Linked DNA regions of Homo sapiens: region 1 is linked to region 2. Evidence: promoter capture Hi-C in 16 types of primary human blood cells and fetal thymus (Javierre and others, 2016). All regions are on one chromosome and are shown on one strand. Each heading gives the region's core, a stretch centred on a gene start or on the middle of the fragment in contact. The rest is flanking DNA. Distances are from core to core; before and after follow the strand shown. Region 1 holds the start of OS9 (OS9 endoplasmic reticulum lectin). Region 2 holds the start of CTDSP2-AS1 (CTDSP2 antisense RNA 1).

Region 1 (2,700 bases), core at 88-2,587, 140 kb before region 2:
TAGCCAGGCTGGTCTTGAGCTCCTGACCTCAAGTGATCCGCCCGTCTCGGACTCCCACAGTTTTGGGATTACAGGCGTAAGCCACCGTGCCCGGCCTATTTTTAAATTTTTTATTTTTAGTGTTTTTTCCCCTCCCTTGCAATTTATGTTTCCTCTCATTTGCTTTTCCCTTCTTGTTTGTTTCTTACTTGTATATTAAAGTCCTTCCTTAAATGTCTAATGATCTCTGGCTATTTATTTTGAAGAGTAAGAACACTAAAAAGCTGATTGGAAAGTGGAATGAGGGCTGGGGCACGTAGGCCAAAGTGTTACATGTGGAATTCATTCTAGTTATCTATATCATTAAGAGAACTCTGATAAGGGTATCTTTGGGATTTTTCGTTTTGGCTGGTGAGATTCCCCAGAGAGGGTTTTCCAAAGGTATAATCAGCCTCTTGTTTACCTTTGTTTCGTAATAAATATTCTCAAGTTTGCTAAACCAGTTAACATTCTTCTGTTTGATTTCCAGCTTCCAAAATGTTGCTGTTGTTGTCTCCTTTCCCTTTCTTACGGCCTGGAGAGTAATACATAATTTCACCTTAACTGGAAGCCCATGTATGCATGTATGTATGTATGTATGTATGTATGTATGTATGTATGTATGTACGTACTTATTTGAGACGGGGTTTCGCTGTGTTGCGCAGGCTGCACTTGAACTCCTGGGCTCAGGAGATCCTCCTGCCTCAGCCTCCGGAGTAGCTGATACCACAGGTGCGTGCCACCACGTCTGGCTGCCCGCATTATTTCTCTAGGATTTTTACTGGAGGTCATTTTACTGGAGGTCAACTGCAGGATCGTATAGGAAGGTTTTGACACAAATTTTCTGATTGCCTCAAAGCAATATGTATATATGAAAAGAGGTAAGCGTCCGTATAATAATTGTTTGTTTTGCAACAAGCATTTAATAACTTTCACCGGCACTGCGCACGCTACCTATCTGCCTCAATACTCCGCCCGGCGGTGGGCAGGATATAATGCAAGAGACGTCTGAAAAAGCAATGAGATGCGCATGACAGCTGGGCGAAGACAGAGGGCAAACTTAAAAGGACCAAGCGCATAGACCACGCCTCTGAAATTGGGGAACGAGGAGGGGTTTGATCTTGTCGATGATTGGCTGGTCTCTGACCAATCACGGACAGCGATTGATATTTCTAATCGTCGTGATCCACCTCCCCAGGACCTTGGAGCCACGTTTACAAATAGGAATAGGGTACGTGGGAGGGATAGAACGTACAGCCAATAAAATCATGTGGCGCCGATGGGCGTGTTGAGGCCGCTGCCTGGCTTAGGGCGGAAACAGATTCTCTGCATAAGAAGGGGAACGAAAGATGGCGGCGGAAACGCTGCTGTCCAGTTTGTTAGGACTGCTGCTTCTGGGACTCCTGTTACCCGCAAGTCTGACCGGCGGTGTCGGGAGCCTGAACCTGGAGGAGCTGAGTGAGATGCGTTATGGGATCGAGATCCTGCCGTTGCCTGTCATGGGAGGGCAGGTGAGAGGCGTATAAGGGGCGAGGGTCTGGGCAGAAGAGGAAGCGGGTAAGAGATAGAGGAAGAAGGGCAGCTCCGGAGTCTGGGGCTGGAGCCTACGGGGAATCGGGAAGAGTAGGTATTGCTTTTACGGTGACCCCTGGGGGTCGCAGACTGAGACCAATTCTCTGGGGGCCAGGAATTGGGAGAGGTGGGGCTTCCCGCTGTCAACCTTCAGGTCTCAGTTTATGATCGAAACACCCGGACTCCGCCCCCGTGGAGAAATGGGAGCGCCCTCTCCTCTCACCCACTAAATACAGCTGGAGGGCTTATGGCTTATTCTGTCTTCGACTGATCTCTTCCCCAGGGTTTGAAGAGGGATTTCGTTGTTCTCCCTGATCCCAGCCTTTCTTTGCTTCCTTGCCCCCCGACCCTCCCTTCTTTCCCAGAGCCAATCTTCGGACGTGGTGATTGTCTCCTCTAAGTACAAACAGCGCTATGAGTGTCGCCTGCCAGCTGGAGCTATTCACTTCCAGCGTGAAAGGGAGGAGGAAACACCTGCTTACCAAGGGCCTGGGATCCCTGAGTTGTTGAGCCCAATGAGAGATGCTCCCTGCTTGCTGAAGGTGAAAGGGACTGGGTTAGATAGAATGAGGGCTTGGAAACTAGCAGTTCATCCAAGAACTGGAGTCCACTGAATGAGGCAGGATCTAGGGGACCTGTAGTGGTTAAGAAGACCACTGGAGGAGTAGACAGATTACACGGACAGGAAAGAAGCAAAGAATCCTGCAACCACTGATGACACTTTGCTGAACGTAGGAGCAGGTTAGGATAGAAGATCTCAGAAAAGGGCTAAAGCAAGATTGAGGGTCTGCGTGGGGTAGGAGGAGTACTTCCTTAAGCCTACTTGCTAAAGTCACCCCCTGCCCTATCACTCTGCTCCAGTATCCTGTTTTATTTTCATCGTAGCACTTTTCATGATCTGAAATCATATTTACTGAATCAGTTTGTTTATTTTCGGTCTGATTCCCCGCATTAGAGTGTAAACTCCATGAGGTCAAAGAATTAATCTTGTTCACAGTTGTATTCCCAGTGGCCAGAACAGTGCCAGGAATGTTCAAGAAGTTCAATTAATATTTAATTTTGGGTTCTTCTATGTTTCCCTAATATAATTGCTTCAGGGATACCATAATT
Region 2 (2,700 bases), core at 122-2,621:
GGCTGAAGACAGGGAAACCAGGCCAGCCATCCAGCTCACTGCTGCGAGTCTTCCTACTGAGGCGGGGTGTGAGGAGAAGAGGGGATGTGAGGAGTATGCCCCCACTGAGGATCATCAGGGCTGGGGTCCAGGCTCTGCCAGTTACTGACTCAGCCACACAGCCTTTTGGAGCCTTAGTTTCCTCATCCATAAACTGGGATAACAGCAAGCCCTCACTCAGGACTGAAAGGATAAACGAAGTTAGAGAGTAAGGCACTGTGCTAACTCTAAAGCTAAATGCTGCGCTTGTTTTAATTAATTATCCAAGGGGAGATGACCACTAAATGGCAACATCATGGGCCTCATTCCAGGAGGCCAGCAACAGACCAGGAGCCCTCCCACCATCATCACGTGGATGAAGCCCAAGAAGATGAGGGAAAGGTGCCTGAGAGCTCTGATCATGAGCAGGTTTCAGAAAGTCAAAATAGCCCCTATACCTTCTCCCAAGTCCACAACAAAATTTGTTTTCCAGCTCACAAACTCCCTGACTGGGTATTCTGTGAAAAACAAAAGCAAGTAAGACTGTTTCACTTGAGACAAAAATCGCTGTCTCCCCTGGTATTCATCCCCACTACTCTCAAGAAGTACCAGGTAAGGACACTATTTGCCCCTATGCATGGGCCGGGGTAGGTGGCTCAAGCCTGTAATCCCAGCACTTTGGGAAGCTGGGCCGGTTGGATCACTGCAGCTCAGGAGTTCAAGACCAGCCTGAGCAACATGGCAAAATCCTGTTCTACCAAAAAAAAATTAGCCAGGTGCACCTGCAGTCCCAGCTTGGCAGGCTGAAGTGGGAGAATCACCGGAGCCCAGGAGTTTGAGGCTGCGGTAAGCCGTGATTGCACCACTGCACTCCAGCCTGGGTGACAGAGTGAGATTTTGTCTTTAAAAAAAAAAAGTGTACATGTACAAACACGTGAACACGTGCACACATACACACAAACGAAGACCAGAGTGACCAGGGCAACACTGTTTTTAATCTTCTCCTGAAAGTCAGGTCCAGATACCACTTTTGTCAACAACACAGCTTTGTGTCCCAGCAAAGGAACTCCTCACACATCTGCCTGCGATTCAGCAGAAGGTAACCTCTGAGACAATCAGATTTTAACAAGCCCATTCAGGTAGAAAGTTGCTTTCTTTTTTGGTTCATCCCCAGAAGTACTTCCTTCCCCACCACCTCCCATCCCCCACAGCAAAGGACTTAGCCTTAGCCTGGCTATCACTATAAAATGGCCCCTCTGAGGGGCCTCCTTCCTCTCAGCTATTGGAGGAAGGAGAGTATTTGGAGCATTTCCGGCCCTTCTTGGACGGCTGCCTGAACCCTGCAGCCAAGACACATTTGACTGGGACTCCCCCATGGAGAGAAGTCCTCCCAGGTCCTCTGCAAGGGGCATCTGTTCCTTGGCTATGGACATGCCCTAAAGTGCCAGGTGGACGGAAGAGCTCCTGGGACCAGCAGGTGAGTCGGCAGGGAACAAAAGAGGGTGAGATGCCTAGACAGCCCCCACACACAAAAGACTGCAAACAATGGGGAGGGTGTACTGCTTTCATGCCTGGCCACTGACACTGTTCTCTACAGCTAACAAGCAAGGCAGGGCCGGACCCAGCTTAGCACCGGCTCCCGAAGTTCCAAAAAGTAGCTGTGTATCTAACTGCATGGGCATTTTTTGAAAAAAGCAGTTTTAACACTTTGGGGGGCAAAGGCAGTGGGGATCACTTAAGGTCAGAAGTTCGAGACCAGCATGACCAATATGGTGAAACCCCATCTTTACTAAAAATGCAAAAATTAGCAGGGTATGGTAGTGAGCTCCTGTAATCCCAGCTACTCCGGAGGCTGAGGCACGAGAATCACTTGAATCCAAGAGGTGGAGGTTGCAGTGAGCCGAGATCACACCATTGCACTCCAGCCTGGGGGACAGAGCAAAACTCTGTCTCAAAATAAATAAATAAATAAATAAAATTTAAAAAATTAAAAAGCAGTTTTAGCCATGCTGTTTGGCCCATACCAGCATGTTGTATGCTGGTGCCCTCTCTGCACCAGCAACTGGGGCAGCTCTACCTAAGCCAGTGTCTCCATTAGTTCCCTTTCCCTGGGCAGGAGAGCTCCCTATATGGCTGTCTCTTCTTTCAGACCTGAGTCCTTAATGCCACCTGTGGGGCGAGGGTCACAGGTCACACACTTTCTTGTCTCTGCCCCTTCAGCAATCTGTTCTCTGACCTCAGCTAGAGAGGTAAGAGGACTCAGTTTTGGGAGCAGGGGATTTCTGGCAGTTCTAAAGCACGCTGATTTCAGAATCAGCCTCTAAAGGAGGTATTGCCAAAACACCCTCCTGGGCAGCTCCAACGTACTTTAAAAACGTGCTGGGTTGGGGTGGGCCTCCATAAGTAGCAGATCCTGGACCAGAGACAGAGGAGGCGTTTCCTCATAGACAAGTCAGCTGCAGGCTCAGCCCTGCAAGCCCCACTCCAGAGGACTCTTGAGGGATGTCAGGAAGTGATCTAATAGCCCACAGGGCAGCAGGGACAAGCCTGAGATGCCATCCAAGAAAACTCAAAGGACTGGATCCTGCCCCTGCCTCAGCAGGAGACCCTGCCCTATGTAGCACCAGCCAGAGCAAAGGTATCATTGTGAGGGATTGGAAACCACACTTGCCTACCTGGAGT

What was found. Contacts are between HindIII fragments. The CHiCAGO score rates a contact against its expected background, and 5 or more counts as called.
Region 1: the fragment with the promoter of OS9 here is called in contact with the fragment with the promoter of CTDSP2-AS1 in region 2 in 2 of 17 cell types (neutrophils and non-activated CD4 T cells); the score reaches 9.4 in neutrophils.

What each region holds. Positions count from the first base shown.
Region 1 is chr12:57,692,795-57,695,494 of GRCh38, forward strand. It overlaps OS9 (OS9 endoplasmic reticulum lectin), which reads left to right and starts at 1,338. Exons shown (of 15, transcript NM_006812.4): 1 at 1,338-1,529; 2 at 1,956-2,132. The coding sequence starts at 1,368. RefSeq lists enhancers at 967-1,541, 1,529-1,578. The HindIII fragment of the contact is 11,057 bases long and covers 1-2,700 here.
Region 2 is chr12:57,835,720-57,838,419 of GRCh38, forward strand. CTDSP2-AS1 (CTDSP2 antisense RNA 1) reads left to right here and starts at 1,372. Exons shown (of 2, transcript NR_188077.1): 1 at 1,372-1,495. All of the region lies in intron 1 of CTDSP2 (CTD small phosphatase 2), which reads right to left. RefSeq lists enhancers at 1,602-1,671, 2,261-2,700, 2,462-2,571, 2,632-2,700. The HindIII fragment of the contact is 9,495 bases long and covers 1-2,700 here.